Linked DNA regions of Homo sapiens: region 2 is linked to region 1. The links are contacts of gene promoters, found by promoter capture Hi-C in blood cells and fetal thymus (Javierre and others, 2016). All regions are on one chromosome and are shown on one strand. The core of a region is centred on a gene start or on the middle of the fragment in contact, and the rest is flanking DNA. Distances in the headings are between cores, read along the strand shown. Region 1 overlaps YPEL3-DT (YPEL3 divergent transcript). Region 2 holds the start of DCTPP1 (dCTP pyrophosphatase 1).

Region 1 (7,105 bases), core at 3,078-5,577:
TGCTCCATAGAGGAACTTTTAATTAAGAGAGGCTCAAAGGCCGGGCATGGTGGCTCAAGCCTGTAATCCCAGCACTTTGGGAGGCCGAGGTGGGTGGATCATGAGGTCAGGAGATCGAGACCATCCTGGCTAACACGGTGAAATCCTGTTTCTACTAAAAAAATACAAAAAATTAGCCGGGCGTGGTGGCGGGCGCCTGTAGTGCCAGCTGCTCAGGAGGCTTAGGCAGGAAAATGGTGTGAACCTGGCAGGTGGAGCTTGCAGTGAGCTGAGATCACGCCATTGCACTCCAGCCTGAGAGACAGAGCAAGACTCCGTCTCAAAAAAAAAAAAAAAAAAGAAAGAAAGTGATTAACTCTGATTTGGGTTCCACCGTCAGATTTATTTATTGATTTATTGATTTATTTATTAAAAAAAAATTCCCAGGGAAGTGGTCAGGAGAAAACGATACCCTATTCCCTTAGAAGCTAGAATGGCTCTAAAACCTATAATTGAGGGCCTCGTCCATGACGGACCCCTTGAACCCTGTATGTCCCCTTATAACACTCCAATATTGCCTGTAAGAAAGTCAGATGGGTCATACCGGCTAGTAGAAGACCTCTGGGCTGTTAATCAAACAGCTCAAACTACCCACCCTGTTGTTCCCAACCCTTACACTATTATCAGCAAAATCCCATATGATCACCAGTGGTTCACAATGATAGATTTGAAAGATGCCAGCTGGGCACGGTGGCTCACACCTGTAATCCTAGCACTTTGGGAGGCTGAGGCGGGCAGACTGCCCGAACTCAGGAGTTTGCAACCAGCCTGGGCAACACGGTGAAACCCCGTCTCTACTAAAATACACACACACACACACACACACACACACACACACACACACACGCCAGGCATGGCAGCATGTGCCTATAATCCCAGCTACTCAGGAGGCTGAGGCAGGAGAGTTGCTTGAACCCAGGAGGCTGAGGTTGCAGTTAGCCGAGATCGTGCCACTGCACTCCAGCCTGGCAACAGAGCCAGGCTCTGTCTCAAAAAATAAATAAAATAAAAAATAAAAAAAGAAAGATGGCTTTTGGGCTTGCCCTTTAGCGGAAGACAGCCGGGACATGTTTGCTTTTGAGTGGGAGGACCCTCACTTAGGTCGAAAACAGCAGTACCAGTGGACAGTCCTACCCCAGGGGTTTACAGACTCCCCAAATCTATTCGGTCAAATTTTAGAACAAGTCCTAGAAAACTTTTCCCTTCCTTCATCCATATGCCTACTCGAATAGGCAGATGACCTGTTCATTTCAGGAAATAGCAAGGACCACATAACCACAGTTTCAATTAACTTCCTGAATTTCCTAAGGGAACAAGGGTTACGGGTCTCAAGGAGTAAAATTCAGTTTGTAGAACCTGAGGTAAAATATCTAGGACACCTAATCAGTAAAGGCAAACGGAAAATAGTACCTGAACGAATTGAAGGTGTCACATCTCTACCTTTGCCTGAAACAAAGCAGGAACTTAGAAAATTCTTGGGATTAGTTGGATACTGTCGTCTATGGATTGACTCTTATGCCTGAAAAACAAAATCTCTACATAAAAAACTCACCCAAGAAGGACCAGACCCCCTTCTTTGGACCCTATCAGAAGTCCAACAAGTAGAAGAGTTAAAACACCTACTTGTAACTGCCCCCGTTATAGCTTTGCCCTCCTTAGCCATTCCACCTTTTCATCAGTGTAAACAAGGGGTTGGCTTTAGGGGTACTCACCCAAAGACACAGAGGCCACTGGCAGCCCATAGCCTTCCTGTCAAAAGTTCTTGACCCAGTAACCCACCGATGGCCCGAATGTGCCCAGTCTGTAGCAGCAACTGCTTTGCTAATGGAACGAAGCAGGAAAATAACCTTTGGGGGAAGCCTCATTGTATGTACCCTTCATCACGTTAGAACCATTCTTAATCAGAAGGCAGGAAGATAGCTCACTGACTCAAGGATTTTAAAATGTGAGGCTATCGGGTGGGTGTGGTGGCTCACGCCTGTAATTCCAGCACTTTGGGAGGCTGAGGTGGGCAGATCACAAGGTCAGGAGTTTGAGACCAGAGTGCCCAGCATGGTGAAACCCCCTCTCTACTAAAAATACAAAAAATTAGCCAGGCATGGTGGCGCACGCCTGTAATCCCAGCTACTTGGGAGGCTGACGCAGGAGAATTGCTTGAACCCCGGAGGCGGAGGTTGCACTGAGCCGAGATCAGCCACTGCACTTCAGCCTGGGCAACAGAACGAGACTCCATCCTCCACCCACCCCCCAAAAAAATTGAGGCTATCTTATTAGAGAGGGATGATTTAACATTGACCACTGGTAGTTCGCTCAACTCCGATGTTTTCCTAACAGGAAATCCGAACCGGGAGGAACCTGAGCATAAATGTTTAGATCTGATCAGTTATCAGACTAGAGTCAGACTGCATCTAAGCAAGACCCTGTTCCAAACTGGGCATTACCTCTTTATAGACGGCTCCTCTCGGGTAATTGAAGGAAGGAGGCATAACGGGTGCTCTGTAGTTGACAGGGAAACCCTCATGGAGGTAGAGTCAGGGAGACGGCCCAATAACTGGTTCACTCAAACATGTGAACTCTTTGCATTAAATCAGGCCTTAAAATCTCTGCAAAATCAGGAAGGAACTATTTACACTGACTCCAAGTATTTTGGAGTAGTCCATACCTTTGGAAAGATCTGGACTGAACGAGGCCTCATTAATAGTAAGGGCCAGGACCTTGTCTATAAAGAATTGATTATGCAAGTACTAGAAAATCTTCAACTGCCAGAAGAAATAGTGGTGGTCCACGTCCCAGGACACCAGAAAAACCCATCTTTTGAAAACCGGGGAAATAACCTCACAGATCAAGTAGCCAAGCAAGTTGCCTCTTCCTGAGAGGCACCCATTTTCCATCTGACCCCTTGCCTTCCCCTCCAGTCGCAATCCCCATCTTCTCCGACGCGGACCAAGAAAAGTTAAAAAGAATAGGAGCTAAGGAAAGCTCAGAGGGAAGGTGGGTATTACCAGACGGGAGGGAAATGCTGTCTAAACCTCTTATGAGGGAAATATTATCACAGCTTTATCAAGAAACTCACTGGGGTCCCCAAGCTATGTGTGACACAGTCCTCAAAGCCTATGGGTATATAGGAATCTCTACCCTCGCTAGTCAGGTGGCGGATAGTTGCCTAGTGTGCAAAAAAACTAATAAAACCCGAAGGAAGCAGCCTTTACTTTATCAAGGGAACCACCCCTATAATTGCCAATCCAACCAGTGCAACCCAGTACTTACCTCTATTACTACCCCTACCTCCACCGACCCTAACTCCACTCTAGGTTGCTTCTATGGCTTAGGAGCCGATGTTACTGGAAGGGACCCTATAGGCTTCTTTGAAATATGTTTTGTTCACCCTTCTCCACCTCCTACCGTCTCCCCCTCCCCAAGCCCACCAAATCAAACCATTCCTCACCTCTTACCCAATGACAAAACCAAAGTAGCTATAGTAGAAGTCAAGGACTTAAAGCAAACCCTAGCCATTGAGACCGGGTATCAAGATGCAAATGCCTGGCTGGAATGGATTAAATATTCTTTTCGCACCCTGAATAAAAGCGATTGTTACTCTTGTGCAGCGGGCAGGCCGGAAACCCAGATTGTCCCCTTTCCACTCAGATGGGCCAACCAACCAGGCATGGACTGTATGGTAGCTCTCTTCCAGCACACCACAGCCTGGGGAAACAAGACGTGCGCCACTCTTTCACTACGTTTCCCAAAGATCAGGAGCCCTACGGGTCAGCTCCCAAGGACCATTTGACTTCCACCTCTCAATGCCAGTTACACCTTGTGTCTCCCACAACAGGACAAATTGACGTTCCTTGGAAATCTAATGGGAGTCTAAACCTTTTCAAGAGCTAACCAATCAGTCAGCCCTTGTCTATCCCCGAGCAGATGTATGGTGGTATTGTGGACTGTTACTGGGTACGCTGCCAAGCAATTGGAGCAGCACTTTTGCTCTAATCCAGTTGGCCATCCCTTTCACCTTGGCATTTCATCAACCAGACAGGAAGCAAGTAACCCAAAGAAAAAGAGAAGCCCCTCGTGGGCCTTTGACCCCCATGTTTACATAGACAGTAGCAGGGTCCCACGGGAGCTACCAAGTGAATTTAAAGCTTGGAATCAAATAGCCGCTGGGTTTAAGTCTGTTTTGTTCTGGTGGTCTGCTATAAATAAAAATGTAGACTGGATAAATTATATATACTACAGCGAGCAGCGATTCGTCAGTTATACCAGGGATGCCATCAAAGGAATAGCTGAACAATTAGGCCCCACCAGCCAGATGACCTGGGAAAATAGACTAGCCCTTGACATGATATTGGCAGGAAAAGGCAGAGTCTGTGTCATGATCTGAGTCCAATGTTGTACTTTTATCCCTAATAATACAGCCGCCGACGGGACCATCACAAAAGCTTTACAAGGCCTTACCACCCTGGCAAATGAATTAGCCGAAAATTCTGGACTAGATAACCCTTTTATGGGTCTCATGGAAAAGTGGTTTGGAAAATGGAAAGGACTCCTGGCTTCAATCTTTACCTCTCTTGCAATTGTAACAAGTGTACTTATCCTTGTGGGCTGCCGCATCATACCTTGTATTCGTGGGTTAACTCAAAGGCTCATAGAAACAGCCCTCACTAAAGCCTTCCTCTCTTCTCTCCCTCCATACTTGGACAAGCTCTTGCTCCTGGATAATCAAGAAGAACAACGAAGCCAAATCCTGTTAAAATTTTTTGCAGAGGAAGAAGTATCAAATAGAAGAGAGGAAATTGTTGGGACAGCTAAGCTCTTCAAAGACTCAACTTCCTGGTCATAAACTTCTCCCCGTTTTTCTTCTTTTTCGCCAGTCTACCCTGTTTGGGAAAGTTTAAACCTTAGCCAGTCGGGATCAGCTCAGATTGTGCAGTCCATCCCCAGTCAATGGGGAAAGGACACAGAAACAGGAACTGCGTTAGGGTTAAAAAGCCCTTCTCTCCTTTGTTTGGGGTGCTCTTGCGATTACAAGCTGCGCAAGTAGCACCGTTCTGAAGTAAAGATGCCTTGCTGGGAAATCTGTCTCAGTGCTGGTTTTTCTTGACTACACTGAGCACTTGTTTCCAACACCCCTGTGCTCCAGGCTGGGTTAGGTCTGATCTCAGGGAATGTCTGTTTCAACACGTGTCTGCAGTTCTTTGGCTTGTGTTGCTCACTGCAGTGGGCCCAGCCTGGTCTAGAGGAGGCGCTCAGGAAGTATCTGTGAAATGTGAATGTGTAGTTCCTTCAGTGAATATGGCCCTGGGGCTGAAGATGGCAGAAGCATTCTGGGAGCTTCTGGAGAAGGAGACCTGGGAGGAGAAGGTTGGAATGGCGGGGGCAGCAGAGGGGCTGGGTGAACTCAGCTGTCCCACCCAGGCCCATCCTCTGCAGCCCGAGAAGGAAGCTCACAGGGCAAGACATGGAAGAGATCAAGTTCCCTGCCCGGTGCCTGGGCTGTTGATGGCCTCAGGAAAATGGAACCATTACCTGTTGCTGTCAAGTGGCTGGGGGCCAGGATGCCTGGGTTGGCCGTGAGAGGACATTGCTGAGGAGAGTGGAGGCCAGGCTGGGGTGGGGTGTGGCAGGAGGACAGGAATGCAGTGGAACCAGTGGGTCAGGCTCCTGAGGGCCCCAGGCTCCAGCCTCAGGGCTGGCCTGTTCCCTCCTAAGCTGCCATCTTCATATCTTCAGGACCCACCCCTCTACTCCTCACCCTCAGCACAACGATGTGATCGAAAGGCAAATATTTATTTTTCAGGAAGAGAAACAGGAGACCTCGAGGCTTCTGGACTTAGGAGGTCCGGGCAGCTGGTCCATGGTTGTCCAGGTAGTGCCGCAGGGCTGTGGGATAATCCGTTATGACGCCAGTGGCTCCCACGCTGAAGGCTGCTTCAAAATCCGACTCTTCATTAAGGCACCAAAAGACCACCTGAGCAGGGAGGGAGGGGGCCTGTAGATTCTGAACAATTTTACATCTGGAGAGTGGGGACCCACCTCCTCCTCTATGGAGACTCCCCAGCAGCAGTAGGCTGGAGCTGATTGTTAAATTCTCAGGAATTTTGCAAAGTGGTTATTAAACCCAGCCATTATTAAAAATTAAATCATAGCCTGGGTGCAGTGGCTCACGCCTGTAATATCAACACTTTGGGACGCCGAGGCAGGAGTTGAGGCCAGGTGTTTAAGATCGAGTGAGACCTCATCTCTACAAAAAACTTTGTAAAAATTAATTAGCCCGGTGTGGTGGTATGCGCCTGTGCTCCCAGCTACTTGGAAGACTGAGGTGAAAGAATTGCTTGAGCCCAGGACTCTAAGGCTGCAGTGAGCTATGGTTGCACCACTGTACTCCAGCCTGGGCGATACAACAAGACCTCGTCTCAAAAAAAAAAAAAAAATTATATATACTGACAATTAAATTATTTATTTATTTATTTATTTATTTTTTGAGATGGAGTCTTGGTTTGTCACCCGGGCTGGAGTACAGTGGCATGAACTCGGCTCACTGCAAGCTCTGCCTCCCGGGTTCACACCATTCTCCTGTCTCAGCCTCCTGAGTAGCTGGGACTACAGATGTCCGCCACCACGCCCAGCTAATTTTTCTGTTTTTAGTAGAGATGGGGTTTCACCATGTTAGCCAGGATGGTCTCGATCTCCTAACCTCGTGATCCACCCGCCTCGGCCTCCCAAAGTGCTGGGATTACAGGTGTGAGCCACCGCGCCCGGCCCTAAATAAATTATTAAAACAACAAGTGGCCAGGCGTAGTGGCTCACGCCTGTAATCCCAGCACTTTGGGAGGCCGAGGCAGGCAGATCAACTAAGGTCAGGAGTTCGAGACCAGCCTGGCCAACATGGTGAAATCCCATCTCTACTAAAAACAGAAAAATTAGCTGGGCGTGGTGGCGGGCGACTGTAATCCCAGCTACTCAGAAGGCTGAGGCAGGAGAATCGCTTGAACCCAGGAGGTGGAGGTTGCAGTGAGCTGAGATCACGCCATTGCACTCTAGCCTGGGCAACAGAGCAAGACTCTGT
Region 2 (7,110 bases), core at 1,197-3,696, 330 kb after region 1:
ATATGAGATTACTGATTTACTGTCAATCTCCTTCCACTGTGAAGGTGGAAACCTTTCTGCCTTGTTCCAGGCCATATCTCAATTCTAGAAGACCTAGCACATAGGTGATGTTCATAAATCTGTCATGAGGCCATGTGCAGTGGTTCAACCTGTAACCCCAGTGCTGCGGGATGGTGAGGCAAGTGAATCACTTGAGACCAGGAGTTTGAGACCAGCCTGGGCAACAACAGCGAGAGATCCCATCTCTACAAAAAGTAAAAATAAATTAGCCAGGCTTGGTGGTGGCGCACGCCTGTAGACCCAGCTACTCCGAAGGCTGAGGTGGGAGGATCGTTTGAGCTCCTGAGGCTTCAGTGAGCTATGATCACACCAGTACACTCCAGCCTCAGCAACAGAGTGAGACCTTTTCTCTTAAAAAAATGACTGTCCTGGTCTAGGGCTCATCGCCTCTTGCCTGGTCTACACCAGCCAACTCTCTGGTGTCCCCTGCCCCATTCTCTCAGTGATCCATCCAATCCACCCTGTAGACACAGTGACCTTTCCAACACTCATATCTGGTCAGGTCTTCTGTCCAAACTCTCCATCATACTCTAGCCCTAATCATATCTTTGTGGGTTCAACTCCCACCCCTCTCCTCCACAGCCCTATCACTCATCCAACGTGTGCCTATTGAGCGCCTACTATGCGCTGGGCACTTGGGACACATCAGAGAAAACAGATCCCAAATCCCTGATTTTTCCTGAGATGCTTACAATGAAGGAGCGTCAGATTCTCCCTGAATTGAACTTGCCCTTTCTTGCCTCACTGCCCCTGCAAATGTAGTTCCCATGTCTGGAATGCCACAGGCAGGTCCTCTACAGAATACCTTCCTTTCAGCCCCAGAGGCAGAGGAAAAGGGTTGTTGGGCCAGGCGTGGTGGCTCACCCCTGTAATCCCAGCACTTTGGGAGGCCAAGGCGGGTGGATCACCTGAGGTCAGGAATTTGAGACTAGCCTGACCAATATGGTGAAACCCCGTCTCCACTAAAAATACAAAAATTAGCCAGGCGTGGTGGGGGGCACCTGTAGTCCCAGCTACTCGGGGGGCTGAGACAGAACTGCTTAAACCCAGGAGGCGGATGTTGCAGTGAGCCGAAATTGAGCCACTGCACTCCAGCCTGGGCGACAGAGCGAGACCCCGTCTCAAAAAAAAGCCAAAAAAACAAAAAACAAAAGAAGGGAAAAGGGTTGTTGCCACTGCTTCTTCCTAGACGGGACCTGTCCTGATGCTTTCACACCTCACACCTCTCTCTTCCAGGAGGCTGAGTGCCCCTAGAGGGCAGGGACCCGTGAGTCCTCTCTGCATCCCAACAACAGCAAAGAGCCTAGCAATCAGGAGGGGAAACTGAACCCATGAATGTTTGAAGACCAAATAAATGCTCCCCTCCCCTCCCCCACAACTCAGACTCTACCAGGAAGCTTTCCATCTACTCACAAGAGTTCTGCCAGCTCCCCCACTTCCCCAACCAAGGCCAGGAGGAGATTCCGAGGCTGATGGAACTGTTCCCAGTCTCGTTCCGCAGCAAACTCAGCATGGAGGCGGCGGCTGAAATAGGACAAAGGAGTGTAAGTCCAAGTCTCCGGGTTAGAGGGTGATGCAGGGGCCAGAGGCAGCTACCCCCGTAGTATGTAATGGGGCCTGGGACCAGGAGATTCTGCAACTAATTCATTGGATGGTATTGTGCAGGTCATTTCCTCTTTCCGGAACTTGGTTCCCTCATCTATAAAATGGGCGTGCCCCTGAACTGCCCTTAACATCTCGCCAAAACTAACAAAACCCTCTTCATTATTCCATCTCCTGCTGCTACTTCTGCAGTTTCCTCCACCTGGAATCGCCGCACATCAAAATGCAATTTCTCTTACAGAAGGTAGTTCCACAGACCCTTCCTCTAAGAAGCCTTTCTTGACCTCCTCCAGCAAAAAATAACGTCTCCCACCTCTCAGCACTTCGTTTGCCCCTCTCGTACCCCCGGCGCCTGGAGAGCAGAGGCGGTATCTGGTGCCGGTATCTTCCCAGGGCTAGGCTGAAGGGCGTTCCTAGTTACCACTCGGAGGCACCACCCAATTTCCCTTGCCTCAGGTGTGCACCGCTGCGCCCATTTTGCAGATGAGGTAAGAAGGCTCACCCAGGGACAGCCCACAGAGCCAGGACCCGAGCCCCGCTGCCAGCCCGCTTCCCGACCACGTGGAGGAACCCTCCCCAAAACGCGGGAGAAAGGGGCGACTTCCCCACCCCGAGCTGGGCCAGGCCTGCTTACATGTCCTCGAGCGTGGGCTCCGGGCTGAAGCTGAACCGGCCGGGAGCAGCAGTGTCCTCTCCCCCCGTGTCCCCACGAATCTCCCCACCGGCCACAGACATGCCGCCCACCGCTGCACCGCGACTTCACGGAAAACCCACGAGCCACGCTCGAAGCCCCGCCTCCAGAGCTCCGACCAATTACGGGAGTTCTCTATTGCCTCACGGGGCGGAGCCTGAGGAAAGAGACCAATGACTTTTGTGGAGTTTGCTACAGCCCTCCCCTTCCCTCACTGGACCAATCTGAGGGAGCTTCAAGCGCGCGTTTCTAGTCTTAGGCCCTGGAATTCTTCCGCTAGGCCCTGTGTCTAAAGGTAGAGGTACCAATTCGACCTGGGGAAGAGACGAAGGGCAGAGGGTGGGGGAAGCGCAGGCGCGTCACTTCGTTTATGGGCGCCAGAGGGCGCCAAAGCGAAACGGCAGCGGAAGAGGGCCCGTCAGGTGGAAAACCCTATAAATGAAAGGCCCTATGCATAGGTATTAAATCAGGGCTTAAGGACGTTGAGAAACCTCGAGGCCAACCCCCACACTATTTGGATGGGATTGAAGGGGAAGAGCGGAGTAAGATCAGACGGCAGTAGGACTTCAGCTCCCCGCCATCGCTGTGTCCTGTGGTTGAAACGATGGAGGTCGCCCCATCCCTGTCCTAAGGGAGGCAGTAGGCCCCAGCGCAACGTACATTGCCCTGAAACACGTGGCCCCTTATGGTCTGGCCTGTGCCGGCCTCTCCAGCCTCATGGGTCCCCAGCACGGCTCCTCCACCCCACACACGAGAACTCCAGGCTCCACTCACACCAGGGAATACGCGAGGTGGCGAGTCACAGGGTTGCTGCTTTCAAATCAGAACCACTGAGTTATTGGCCATGGGAGGAGCAGAGATCTTTATGAAACCCTAGAACAGGTGTAGTCTTGCAAAGAATGATTTATTATTGTACCCTTATTAGGGCTACTATCTCTGATTTCCACGTTTAAAGAGGCTTCCAGCTTGCTGGAAGTGAAAGCGTAAGAAAGCGCAGGAAGAGGCAGAGTCAGATTTTGGAAATTAAAATCCCAAGGCTGTGACAATTGCAATTCTAGGTATATGCCCTAGAGAAATTAATGAATATGTGCAGAGAGACACATGCAAGAAGTTCATTACAGTTTTGTTTCTAAGAGTGAAAAAAATTGAAAATAAAATGACTATCAACGGAAGAATGGCTACATGGAAGTATATTTATACAAATGATATTATCCAGCAGTTAAGATTGGATACATGCAACAGAAACAAGTTTAAACTGCTTTTAGCAAGAAAAAGAAATCTATTATTTTTATTTTTTAAATTTTTTATAGAGACAGGGTTTCACCATGTTGCCTAAGCTGGTCTTGAACCAGGATTGCTGGATTGGGCTCTAGCAATCCTCCTGCCTTGGCCTCCCGAAGTGCTGGGATTACAGGCACGAGCCACCCCCACCGGCCACAAGGAATTTATTGTAAGGATACAAGAGTGTCTCCAGAATACAGTGGGACCTCAGGAATGAACTGGAACTGGGGTGGCTGTTTTAAGCATTTTACATATTTAATCCTCATAGCAACTAATTTAATCCTCACAAAAACCCTATATGGTAGGTAATATTGTTGTCATCCCCATTTTAAAGATAAGGAAACTGAGGCCGGGCGCGGTGGCTCACGCCTGTAATGCCAGCACTTTGGGAGGCCGAGGCGGGCGGATCACGAGGTCAGGAGATCGAGACCATCCTGGCTAACACGGTGAAACCCCGTCTGTACTAAAAATACAAAAAATTAGCTGGGTGTGGTGGCGGGCACCTGTAGTCCCAGCTACTCAGGAGGCTGAGGCAGGAGAATGGTGTGAACCTGGGAGGTGGAGCTTGCAGTGAGCCGAGATCGCGCCACTGTGCTTCAGCCTGGGCGAAAGAGCGAGACTCCGTCTCAAAAAAAAAAAAAAAAAAAAAAAAAAAAAGATAAGGAAACTGAGAGGTTAAATAACTTAACAGCTAGTAAAGTGGTAGAGCTGGCGTCAAATCCAGGCAGTTTGGCTTCACAGTCTGTTATTAGACCCTATGATGTATTGCCTGAAATGGCGATAAATATGAAAAAAATAAATGTAACTGTATTTTAAATACTATGAAAGGCTGGGCGTAGTGGCTCATGCTTGTAATCCTAGCACTTTGGGAGGCGGAGGTGGGCAGATCACTTGAGATCAGGAGTTTGAGACCAGCCTGGGCAACATGGTGAAACCCTTTCTCTATTAAAAATACAAACTTAGCTGGGTGTGGTGGTGCATGCTTGTAGTCCCAGCTGCTCAGGAGGCTGAGGCATGAGAATCACTTGAACCCGAGAGATGGAGGTTGCAGTGAGGCGAGATTGTGCTACTGTACTCTAGCCTGGGTGACAGAGCAAGACCCTGTCTCAAAAACAAAACAAAACAAAACAAACAAAACAAAATCTGGGCATGGTGGTGCACACCTGTGGTCCCAGCTACTTGGGAGGCTGAGGTGGGAGGATCACCTGAGCTTAGGGAGGTCAAGCCTGCAGTGAGACATGATTACGCCACTGCACTGCAGCCTGGGCGACAGAGTGAGACCCTGTTTCAATAAATACATACATATATACTATGAAAAGTGATTGGGGGCATGTTTAGATTGCATGGTCCAGGAAGATATATAGTAAGCACTGTAGGTTACCTACTTAATTGCTCTTTTTCCTCTTCTCCATTCTCTTTTTCTTTTTTCTTTTCTTTTTTGAGGAGGAGACAGGTTCTGGTTCTATTGCCCAGGCTAGAGTGCAGTGGCACAATCACAGCCCACTTGTGTAGTTAAGACTACAGGTGAGCATCACCATGCCTGGCTCCTCTTCTATTCTTGCAGAATTTTTTTTTTTTTTTTTAGGAGTCTCACTCTGTCGCCCAGGCTGGAGTGCTGTGGTATGATCTCTGCTCACTGCAACCTCCGTCTCCTGGGTTCACGTGATTCTCCTGCCTCAGCCTCCCAAATAGCTGGGATTACAGGTGCACACCACCACACCCAGCTAATTTTTGTATTTTTAGTAGGGATGGGGTTTCACCATGTTGGCCAGGCTGGTCTTGAACTCCTGACCTCAAGTGATCCTCCCCCTTCTGCCTCCCAAATTGCTGGGATTACAGGCGTGAGCCACCGCGCCCGGCCACTTACAGAATCTTGATTTTGTTCTGGGGTCCACGCTCCTCCACTTGATTGTTCTGCCTGACTGGTCATAGTGTTCCCATTGCCCTGGCCATTGATTGGTTTATGAATGAGCATGCTATGGATAATAAGTTGGAAGTCTTTTTTTTTTTTTAGACAGAATCTCGCTCTGTCGCCAGGCTGGAGTGCAGTGGCGCAATCTCTGCTCACTGCAACCTCCACCTCCTGGGTTCAAGCGATTCCCTTGCCTCAGCCTCCTGAGTATCCGGGACTACAGGCGTGTGCCACCACGCCCAGCTAATTTTTTGTATTTTAGTAGAGACAGGGTTTAACCATGTTGGCCAGGATGGTCTCGATCTCCTGACCTTGTGATCTCCCTGCCTCGGCCTCCCAAAGTGCTGGTATTACAGGTATGAGCCACTGCCCGGCCAAGTTGGAGGAACTCTATTGGATTTCTGGGAAACGTTCTTCTTAGTTCTTTAAAGAAATTACAGGGGCTGGCTATGGTTGTTCATGCCTCTAATCCCAGCAGTTTCAGAGGTGGAGGCAGGAGGATCTTTTGAGGCCAGCCCTGGCAACATAGCGACACTCTACACAAAATTAAAAAAAAAATTAGCTGGGCATGGTGGCATGCACCTGTATTCCTAGCTACTCAGGAGGCTAAGGTGGGAGGATCACTTGAGCCCAGGAGTTTGTTATAGTGAGCTATGATCAGCCCACTGCACTCCAGCCTGGGTGACAGAGGGAGACCCTGTCTCAAAAAAAAAAAATCAAACAAACAAACAAACAAAACCACAAAAGACACAGGATGTTTCTACCTCTAGATGTTGGTATATGGAGAGAAGATTGAGAGGAAACCTAGTCCTCAGGCTGAAATTGGCAAGTCAGCCAGATACAAAGGAACTTGATCCTTCCTAACATTGCTGAGCCACTTATTGTACAAGTTCCAGAAATACCCTAATTTCGGACTCTGGCTATATAAGAAAATGAATCCCTTTAATGGTCAAACTACTTTTAGTTCGGTTTTTTGTTACTTGCCTTGGAGAAAGTGACATTTAAGCTGAGGACAAATCAAGGGGAATAGAGTTCTAGGCAGAGGGAACAACCAATGCCTAATGCAGGAAAGGCTTGGCATATTGCAGTGTGGCAGGAAGGCAGTGAGCAAAGCAGAGAGTGGTTGCATGTGTACGGTGTAGGAGAAGTAAAAAGAGGTCAGATCAGACCAATTCACCACGAGTTTCATTTTAGATTTTTTTTTTTTTTTTTTTTGTAGATGTAGTCTCCCTCTGTTGCTCAGGCTGAAGTGCAGTTGTGCGATCTCAGCTCACTGCAACCTCTGCCACCCGGGTTCAATAAATTCTCCTGCTTCAGCCTCCCTAGTAGCTGGGATTACAGGCATGTGCCACCACGCCCAGCTAATTTTTGTATTTTTAGTAGAGACAGGGTTTTACCATGTTGGTCAGGCTGGCCTCGAGCTCCTGACCTCAGGTGATCTGCCTGCCTTGGCCTCCCAAAGCACTGGGATTACAGGTGTGAGCCACCGCGCCTGGCCTCAGAGGGTTTTAAGCAGGAGAGTGATCATATTTTGGGCAGATCATTTGAACCCAGGAGTTTGAGG

What was found. Contacts are between HindIII fragments. The CHiCAGO score rates a contact against its expected background, and 5 or more counts as called.
Region 2: a contact is called between the fragment with the promoter of DCTPP1 here and a fragment that was not itself captured in region 1, in 4 of 17 cell types (naive CD8 T cells, erythroblasts, total CD4 T cells and 1 more). The highest score is 5.8, in naive CD8 T cells.

Annotation. Positions count from the first base shown.
Region 1 is chr16:30,099,003-30,106,107 of GRCh38, forward strand. It overlaps YPEL3-DT (YPEL3 divergent transcript), which reads left to right. Exons shown (of 2, transcript NR_135192.1): 2 at 4,455-6,454. It overlaps GDPD3 (glycerophosphodiester phosphodiesterase domain containing 3), which reads right to left. Exons shown (of 10, transcript NM_024307.3): 10 at 5,808-6,007. The coding sequence ends at 5,870. Among named protein-coding and RNA genes, the nearest start is that of YPEL3-DT, 6.1 kb to the left of the region's middle. The HindIII fragment of the contact is 297 bases long and covers 4,180-4,476 here.
Region 2 is chr16:30,427,584-30,434,693 of GRCh38, forward strand. DCTPP1 (dCTP pyrophosphatase 1) reads right to left here and starts at 2,447. Exons shown (of 3, transcript NM_024096.2): 1 at 2,297-2,447; 2 at 1,474-1,584. The coding sequence starts at 2,397. RefSeq lists enhancers at 550-1,050, 1,051-1,551, 2,305-2,384, 2,785-2,894. The HindIII fragment of the contact is 11,131 bases long and covers 1,456-7,110 here.